2 separate regions of the Homo sapiens genome follow, and region 2 is linked to region 1. Evidence: promoter capture Hi-C in 16 types of primary human blood cells and fetal thymus (Javierre and others, 2016). All regions are on one chromosome and are shown on one strand. Each heading gives the region's core, a stretch centred on a gene start or on the middle of the fragment in contact. The rest is flanking DNA. Distances are from core to core; before and after follow the strand shown.

The links. Contacts are between HindIII fragments. The CHiCAGO score rates a contact against its expected background, and 5 or more counts as called.
Region 2: a contact is called between a fragment that was not itself captured here and the fragment with the promoter of MATN1-AS1 in region 1, in 6 of 17 cell types (total CD8 T cells, naive CD8 T cells, naive B cells and 3 more). The highest score is 6.6, in total CD8 T cells.

Annotation. Positions count from the first base shown.
Region 1 is chr1:30,715,471-30,720,528 of GRCh38, forward strand. MATN1-AS1 (MATN1 antisense RNA 1) reads left to right here and starts at 3,302. Exons shown (of 4, transcript NR_034182.1): 1 at 3,302-4,095. MATN1 (matrilin 1) reads right to left here. Exons shown (of 8, transcript NM_002379.3): 3 at 3,265-3,487; 4 at 1,320-1,445; 5 at 439-855. RefSeq lists silencers at 2,525-2,704, 2,745-3,264, 3,825-3,914 and enhancers at 3,325-3,494, 3,592-4,167. The HindIII fragment of the contact is 4,958 bases long and covers 69-5,026 here.
Region 2 is chr1:31,058,599-31,063,368 of GRCh38, forward strand. It overlaps PUM1 (pumilio RNA binding family member 1), which reads right to left. Exons shown (of 22, transcript NM_001020658.2): 2 at 606-979. The coding sequence starts at 968. Among named protein-coding and RNA genes, the nearest start is that of PUM1, 4.7 kb to the right of the region's middle. The HindIII fragment of the contact is 189 bases long and covers 3,352-3,540 here.

The sequences.
Region 1 (5,058 bases), core at 2,052-4,551:
TATTTACTGAGGTTCTGCTCTGTGTCAGACCCTATAGTGACTTCCTGTACTGGAAGCTTTGTACAGCAAGCTTCATTTAACCCTAATAATCATCCATCTGGTGGTTATTTTTTCCTCATTTAATAGGTTACAAAACAGACTCGGGCTTGTTCCAAAGTAGAGTTGCCTTCCAATAGTTGATGTGTTCTTGGGAATATCCAGCTGGAAAAGTTCCAAGCCTCACTTACAAAAGGACCATCAAAACAAGCCACTTACTTTTCTGGGGCCTCAATTTTGTCATTGGTATAAGAGAGAATTGGACTAACCAATCCTCCTCATTCAAACTCACCTGGGTTTAGGGCACTAATCAGACGACACCAAGATAAACTACAGTTGGGCTATACCCGTGTGTACCCCTGGCCATCAGTGGTGTCCAGGGTCCAGGCAGGCAACACCTACCGAGGTCTTTGGCCTTCTTGGCAGCATCATTAATGTAGTCCTGGCTCCGGCCATCAGTGAAGACAATGCCCACCTTCTGGGCCCCGGGCCTAGCCCCACTGGACACAGTGAAGGAATTGTCAATGAGGTACTTGAGAGCAGCCCCAGTCATTGTGCCCTTCTCCATGTAGGACATATTCCGCACAGCCGCCTTGATGTCCTTCTTGGTGTGGAAGCGACCCAGGGGGAACTCCTGGCGCACAGAGCTTGAGTACTGCACCAGCCCCACCTGGGCCAGCTTGTCTGACACGTCCAGCGTATCCACGATCTGACTGATGAACTTCTTCACCAGCTCAAAGTTCTCTGGCCTCACACTCTTGGATCCGTCAATGAGGAAGACCAGGTCAGTGGCCGAGCTGCCACCACCACCACTGCAGACTGTGGAGGACAGGAAGGCAACGGGCTGAAGCTGAAGGACATAGTCAACCATCCTGCTCCCCGGCTGGACACCCACCACACACCAAGCTCTGTGCTGAGGATCATTACATTGTGCCCTCAGAACTGCCTCTATAAAGCCAAGGTGACTGGTCCCACTGTACAGTATTGGAAACTGAAACTCCAATAGCTGTGAGATCACACAGCTCAGAAGTGGTAGCACCAGGATTTGATTTTGAGACTATGTGAGTCCTTCTACCACACTAAACCCACCGCCCATTGTGTTGAAAACAGGGACAGAAGTCAGGTGAGAACTTCTGCAGATACCAAACTCTAAAAGGCATCTGTCTGCTTTGAAGATTGGTTCAGAGGTATGGTGCAGGGAGGCTTGAATGGGTTTCCTGGGGAGGCCCCATCACCTCCCCTCCACACCCTCTCCAGGGCGAGCCTGTGTCCACCCCACTGACCATTGCAGGTCTTGCCGTCGCTGTTCAGAGTGAAGCCCTCGTGGCAGGCGCAGGTGTAGGAACCGGGGGAGCTGATGCACACCTGCTCACAGTCATGGTCCCCTGTGGCGCACAGGTCTGACACCACTGCGGGGACAATAAGTAGCTCAGATCTCACAGTCATAGTGCCTTGGGCACTACAGACAGGTTGTCCCTCCCTGACTGTGGATACCAGGCCCCATCCAGACTCAGGGAAACTAAGATCTCCAACATACTGGGGCCCAGGCCCCCGACTCTCAGCCCACGTCTGGAATCATTGCACCAGTGCCTAGATCCCTGAAGAAGGTTATAATGCTGATGATAAGAATGAAAAGTCTCACTAAAAAGGTAAAGGCCAAGGGTTAGGGCCTTTAGTCTGTTTAGTTCACTGCTGTATCAAGACACCCAAGTGTCTAGAACAGCATACAATGAACACAGCACCTATCTGTCAAATACCATATAATGAGGGTTACATTTTGCATTATCTCACTGGATCCTCTCAATAACGTGCATGCTCTTCTTAGACCCATTTTACAAATGGGTAAAGTCCCTGCCCTAACCCTGATCCTGTCCTACTGGACACCCTGCCCCTGCGGGTCACATCCCAAAGACCCACACACACACCTCCCCTCCGAGAAGGGCTCTGAACCTTCTCCTGCCAGTGCCCAGGCCTCTCAGACTCTCCCGCATCACAGAAAACTCTGGCACCCAAAACTCACGACACAGAAACATGTGTAGGTTTTCTGGGAGCTCTCCTTCCTGAGCTCTGGGCCCTCCTTGGTCCCTGCCAGGATTCTGCCACATAAAAGGGCTCTGTTGTTTTTTGTGTGTGCGGTTTTTTTTTTTGTTTTGTTTTTTTTTTGAGACGGAGTCGTCTCGCTCTGTCGCCCAGGCTGGAGTGCAGTGGCACGATCTCGGCTCACTGCAAGCTCCGCTTCCCGGGTTCACGCCGTTTTCCTGGCGCAGCCTCCCGAGTAGCTGGGACTACAGGCGCCCGCAACAACGCCCGGCTAATTTTTTGTATTTTTAGTAGAGACCGGTTTCACCATGTTGGCCAGGATGGTCTCGATCTCCTGACTTCGTGATCCGCCCGCCTCGGCCTCTCAAAGTGCTGGGATTACAGGCGTGAGCCACCGCGCCCGGCCATAAAAGGACTCTTAACATCGCCTCTCCCCAACTCCCTTAACCTGGGGCTGGAGACCCTCCTCCGTTATCAGGCTCCGCCCCAGCTACGGCCCCACCCCTGGTGCTGGCACCACCTCAGTCTAATCCAGGTTCCACCCCCAATCCACCTAAGCCGTGTCCCTAGCCCTGGCCCCGCCCTGATGTTGCCGTGTAACTCAGTTCCCGCCGTTTTATAGGCTACCGCCCCAGCCAGGCCCCGCCCTCTGATGTGGCCCCGCCCCCCGACGCTGACTTTTTCTGTCTTCACTTTAGCGCTGGCTCCGCCCCTAGCCTTGGCCCGCCTCAGCGCGGACTCTCAGTCTCTGCGCCTGCCACGGCCTCGTCCCGCTCAGCCCTGGCCCTGCCCCTGGAGCCGACTCTCTCCGCCTCCGCCCCGGTCCCGCCCTGGCACTGACTGTCTCCGTCTTCGCCCCTGCCCTGGCCCCGCCCCCTGCCTGCTCTGGCCCCGCCCCGCCGCTCTCTCCGTCTCCGCCCCTGCCCTGGCCCCACCCTTGCCCCGCCCCGGCGCTGACTCTCTCCGTCTCCGCCTCCGCCCCCGGCTCCTCCCCGGCCCCGCCCCGGCACTGACATTCTATCTCTCTCCCGTCTCCGCCTCTGCCCCCCCCCCGGCCCCGCCCCTGCCCTGCGCCGGCGCTGGCTCCGTCTGCGCCTCAGCCTCGGTCCCGCCTCCAGCCCTGGCCCCGCCCCGCCGCTCTCCCCTTCTCCGCCCCTGCCCTGGCTCCGCCCCCGCCTGCCCGCGCACCGCAGAAGGCCTCCTGGAACTTCCTGGACAGCTTCTCGATGACGCTGTAGCTCTCCACGTAATCGACGTGTTCGTCCTGCGGCTCGCTGGCGATCTGCCGCAGCGTGGCCTTGTCCACGCTGCCCACTCCGATGGCGAACAGCTCGACGCCGCTGGCCCGGGCCCGCGCAGACACGTCCTGCACGCTGTCCTGGGGCCTCCCGTCTGTCACCACGATGACCACCTGCGACACGCGGGGCGGTGTGACACCGGGCTCCCGGAAGCCCACGGGACTGTCCAGGAGAGGAGGCTGAGGCCCGGAGAGGCGGGAGGACTGCCGGGTCGCACAGCCAGGCGGCACCCGGGGGAAGAGGACCCGGCTGGCCGAAGAGGAGACCCGTTTCCTCTGACTGAGAGACGTGGCTGGGGGGCTTTCCATCTGCTTCGCCTCCCTCGGGCAGGCAGCTCTGAGATGCCCGGAGGGATGTGATGCCCCATCGCCAAATTGGGGTCTCTAAGGTCAGGGCCATGCCTTCCCCTCAGACTGAGGCGGCTGAGGGCAGGGTCCTCAGGCTGATGGCTGTGGGAGTCGTGCCACGCCCCTCGTGCCCCCGGGAGGCCCGGCCGGGGCTGGGTGGGGGGATCCGGTGGTTCCACATGGTGCAGTTCTGCGCTTTGGCCACCAGATGGCAGCCGAAGCTAAGGGATGGGGCTGCCGTCTCCCGTCTTGCTGTCCTTGTCCCGGTAAGACCGGGGACCCTGGACCAGGGAACCGACGGAGGGCCACTCCCATGTGGATGCCCAAGGGACCAACCCAAGAAAGATGCCGCCCTTATCCTCCTCCACTCCCCGGTATGATACATGCCCCTGCCAGAGAGGGAAAGAATCTGCCTGCTCCCCTCCCACTAGGCTCCTCTGGTCTGTACCCTGGAAAGAAAGAGGTGGCGGACTCTGTCACTGAGATCCGGCTTCGTGACCCCCTGTCTGCACCCGCCCTGAGGCTAGGGCGCTCCCAGCTCTGCCCAGTCTGGGTTAGGCATCCAGTCCCGCTTTGCTGCTTCTCTGCTTCTGACTTGGGTCTGTTTCTGATTCCTGGGTCCCATCCTTAGCCCCAGGTCCTGACACCCTGTCCTGATGACAGGCAGTTGAGACAGGCCGTGTTTAGAAATGCAGCTCCACAAGCTACAGGTCACCTTCCTGAGCCTCAGTGTCTTCAACTGTAAAAAGGGTTGTGGTGAGGTTGAGTGAGATGACTCCTGGTTAGAAGCCAGAAGGGGCAACTATTATTTTTACCATCATTACCCTGGGCTACCTGGGGAGTGACTTTGTACAATCTCTTCCTCTCCAGGGGCCTGGGCTCCTGGCTCTGAAAATCTAGCTGTGACTATTCGCTGCCATCCCGAGGCCCACTGCCTCCTCGAGTCCCTACTCCCCTCCCTGCAACCCAGCTTTCAGATTGTCCACCTTGCTGGGTCCTCCCACAGGTGAACTCCAGGCTGAACACCTGGAGTCTGGTGCCAGCTCCCCCAGCGCCGCTGTGTCACCTGCTGGAGGAGCTCTCTCCTCACTTGCCCACCCCACGCCACCACCCCCATCTCCTTCACCCTCTCCACCACCTCAACCATCAGCTTCATCTACAGCACCCCGTGCTGAAACTTGTAGTTGGCCCCAAGACCGACAGGCTGCCTGATACGTCATTTCTCTAAGGGGTGGTAATGGCTGGGATTATATGCTGTTGTCTCTGTGAATGCTTTTCCCACTTATTGGCTGAGCAAGTTGCTTAAGCTTCTTATGCCTCAGTTTCACCATCTGTAA
Region 2 (4,770 bases), core at 2,196-4,695, 340 kb after region 1:
TTGCAGTGAGCAGAGATCGCGCCAGTGCACTCCAGCCTGGGCAAAAGAGTGAGACTCCGTCTTAAAAAAAAAAAAAAATGCATTCTATAGGCCGGGCGTGGGTGGCTCACAACTGTAATCCCAGCACTTTGGGAGGCCGAAGCGGGCAGATCACTTGAGGTCAGGAGTTCGAGGCCAGCCTGGACAACATGGTGAAACCCTGTTTCTACTGAAAATACATAATCAGCCAGGCGTGGTGGTGCACACCTGTAGTCCCAGCTACTCAGGAGGCTGAGGCAGGAGAACTGCTTGAACCTGGGAGGCAGCAGCTGCAGTGAGCCGAGATCAAGCCGAGATCAGGCGACTACACTCCAGCCTGGGTGACAGAGCAAGACTCTGTCTCAAATGAATGAATGAATGAATGAATTGGCTATTTACTATTTAGCACCAGAATGATAAATGACCCAGTAACAGTATTACAATGATCAACCTTTATAACAAGTAACTGTTTGTACCAAATGAAATCAGCAATTTAAGTTTTTAAAGACATTCATTGAAAGCAGATATCCTAAGTGGACAGTGATTATAAAGGAATGTCAAAGCTAAAATAGTGAACTTTTTTTTACCTGATGTTCTGCATGAATGTTATCCCCAGTAGGCCATCGATGTTTGCTATTATTATAGCCGCCTCCTCCACTTCCTCCTCCCCCAAGCTGCTCACCATGCTGCCTCTGAAAGAAGTAGTCCACCATAGCGTCGTCCTGGGAACGGCCTGCAACTCCTATAGATCCTGGGACAGGGCTGGAGTGAGTCCCAGCTGCAAGAGCCTGATTTGCAGCTGGTTGTGGCTGCGCTTGCGACCCTGTTCCAGATGTCAAAACAACAGGCATGTTGGGATTAGCTGGTTCTTGAGGGTGATGTTTCAGGTGGGGGCTGAAAGAGTCCTGCCAAAGCACTGCTTTTCTCTTCAAGACACATGCAACGCTCATTCCACCAACACCTAAGGACAAACAGGTTACAAATATTTAATATTTCCATCTTTTGAAACATAAAACACACTAAGATAAAAACATGAACCCCATGTCTTTTACAATAAATAAATGTCGTTGGTGGCATGCACTCTGGCAAGGTATTGGGATCAGAACTCAATACTACCACTTCAGAGAAGTTTATGTTGTTAACCAACACATAGCAATACAGAATTAGACTTCTATCAGTCTACCCAACTTACTTATACCTCAAACCAACTGACAGTTTTTAAATGAACAAAAGCTTTTTTTTTTTTGAGACAAGAGTTTTGCCCCTGTTGCCCAGGCTAGGGTGCAATGACGCGATCTCGGCTCACTACAGCCTCCGCCTCCTAGACTCAAGCGACTCTCCTGCCTCAGCCTCCTGAGTAGCTGGTACTACAGGCGCCCACCACCACGGGTGGCTAATTTTTTGTATTTTTAGTAAAGACGGGGTTTCACCATGTTGGCCAGGCTGGTCTCGAACTCCCGACCTCAGGTGATCTACCCACCTCGGCCTCCGGAAGTGCTGGGATTACAGGCGTGAGCCACCGCGCCCAGCCCCAAAAGCCTTTTTAAAACTATCACAACTTCGGCCGGGTGTGGTGGCTCATGCCTGTAATCCCAGCACTTTGGGAGGCCAAAGTGGGTGGATCACCTGACGTCAGGAGTTCAAGACCAGCCTGGCCAACATGGTGAAACCCCATCTCTACTAAAAATATAAAAATTAGCCAGGTATGGTGCTGGGCACCTGTAATCCCAGCTACTCGGGAGGCTGAGGCAGGAGAATGGCTTGAATCCAGAAGGCAAAGGTTGCAGTGAGCCGAGATCATGCCACTGTACTCCAACCTGGGTGACAGAGCGAGACTCTCTCTCAAAAAATCAATCAATCAATCAATCACAACTTTACAGCTGGAGCAGACATATGCTAATAACTAAACAAAAGCCTAAACCCATATATAAGTAGCAATGGCTCAGATTGTGTAATTTGAAAGGATCCCTTAAAGTGTCCAACATATTGGCCAGGCGAGGTGGCTCACGCCTATAATCCCAACACTTCGGAGGCCAAGGCAGGTGTATCACTTGAGGTCAGGAGTTCGAGACCAGCCTGGCCAACATTATGAAACCCCATCTCTACTGGAAATACAAAAATTAACTGGGTGTGGTGGTACACACTTTTAATCCCAACTACTTGGGAAGCTGAGGCAGGAGAATCGTTTGAACCCGGGAGGCAGAGGTTGCAGTGAGCCAAGATCGCACCACTGCACTCCAGCCTGGGCGACAAATCGAGACTCTGTTTCAGTAAAAAAAAAAAAAATAATAAATAAATAAATAAATAAAACCTCCAATATATTGATAGGATATTTCTTAAAGAAACAATAAAACCCTCTGACCAAGAACAGCAGCAGAATGCTTTTAGCCTAAGCCCTCTCCTCAGTTGTCACTGATTTTTAAAAGCATTAATATTTTTACCAGTAACTTACAACTATTAACTGTAATCACATTATGCCATTAGTACTTCAACTACTATAAACAGGATGAGACCAAACCAAATTTAAACACTTCATATTAGTGTAGAAAGCCTCACTACAGGCTGGGCACAGTGGCTCACTCCTGTCATCCCAGCACCTTCGGAGACTTAGGCAGGGAGAATCGCTTGAGCCAGGAGCTGAAGACCAGCCTAGGCAACACAGTGAGACCCCCATCTCTATTATTTTATTAAAAAATAAGGCTCTAAGAAGGCCAATGGAGGTTGGGCACGGTGGCTCATGCCTGTAATCCCAGCACTTTGGGAGGCCGAGGCGGGTGGATCATGAGGTCAGGAGATCAAGACCATCCTGGCTAACATGGTGAAACCCCGACTCTACTGAAAACACAGAAATTAGCCAGGCTTGGTGGCACGCGCCTGTAATCCCAGCTACTTGGGAGGCTGAGGCAGGAGAATCACTTGAACCAGGGAGGCAGAGGTCGCACCACTGTGCTCCAGCCGGGCGACAGAGCGAGACTCTGTCTCAAAATAAATAAATAAATAAAATAATTTTTTTAAATTATAAAAAAAAAAGAAAGCCTCACTATACAAACCAGAAGCCTCAGTTGGGTGTGGTGGCTCATACCTACAATCCCAGCACTTTGGGAGGCTGAGGTGGGCAGACAGCTTGAGCCCAGGAGTTCAAGACCAGCCTGGGCAACATAGCAAGACCTATCTCTACTAAAAATAATTAGCCAGGCATGGTGGCATGTGCCTATAGTCCCAGCTACTAGGGAGGCTGAGGTGGGAGGATCATTTGAGCCCAGGAGCGGGAGGCTGCACACCCGCTTGGGCGACAGAGTGAGTTCCTGTCTCAAAAACAAACAAACAAACAGAAGCTTCAACACGGTAATAGTGTAATGAATATATCGCAGACATTGTCTCATCACAAAAGCATTGAAAGGTAGCCATTATTATTTCTATTTTACAAATGAAAACACTAAGGTACAGGAGGAAAATGGGATGTTTCCAAGGCCATTCAACTAGCAAGTAGCAGAGAAAGGATTCAAACCCTAATCGTTCCCAAGCTTACTTCTTTCTACTAACCCCTTGCAGGAGTAACTCAACAATATGTCTCATTTGTATCCTCTACTCCTCTGGAAGACCAACAAAGAATCCCTCAAATGTTACTATGAAACACTAAAGTTCCTTAAAACCAAAAACTGCATCTGTACTTAAGATAGAACACTTGCCAGCCTGTGGGTGCTTTTAAAAAATGCTACAAAGTGTCCGGACACGGTGGCTTACGCCTGTAATCCCAGCACTTTGGGAGGCGGAGGCAGGCGCATCTCCAGGTCAGAATTCCAGACCAGCCTGGCCAATATACTGAAACCCCGTCTCTACTAAAAATATAAAAAGTAGCCAGGTGTGGTGGCACGCACCTGTAGTCCCAGCTACTCGGGAGACTGAGGCAGAAGAATCGCTTGAACCCAGGAGGCGGAGGTTGCAGTGAGCCGAGATCAAGGCACTGCACTCCAGCCTGGACGACAGAGTGAGACTCCATCTCAAAAAAAAAAAAAAAAAGCTACAAAGTAAATAAATCAGTTACCAATTAGGACACACCTGTCCACAGCCACGGTCTAATTTCAAAGCCATCGGCCTAACAGTCTACTGCTACAAATGCTTTATCTCTTCTCCCAACCCCCACTGTGATGCTTCAAAAACACATGAATAACAAATCTACTATCTCTCTGTTGAATAAATAAACCTTCTGATAAAGTAGCATTTGCTTCTCACAACTAAATTCATGTTTTTGAAGCCAGCCTAAGAAGACACAATGGAATTTGTAATTTGTTTAAAGCCTAATTTGGAAATGCCTAGTCTAGGTTAAGAATTCCAATCCATCAGAACCTTAGCAGGGTACTGGAGTAGTCTAACCTAGACACTAGTCCCTGCTCAAGTACCAAAACCAAAAAGTCATAGCCCGGTTTCACCATCGGTCTTTCAAAAGTGCAAACCAGCCTAATGCCTCCCTGCTTGGTTTTTTAAAGAATTCATTACTCTCTTAGTACTAATACTAGACAGTCCCATTCTGTTCTAAAAGGAAATCTCGACCTAACAATCTTTGTTCTAGAGCAGGCCAAGAGTTCCAAAACCCAAGTTCTTTCACTAAACAAAACTACCTGTTTCCTCATCTAGAAAATGAAAGAAATCCTTCCTCTATGACTCTCAATGTTTTGGGTTTTTCTTAATGAAAATGAGATAAATATAAAAGTTTTTGGTAAATTTAAAGTCATCGTGCTTAAGACTCTTAGA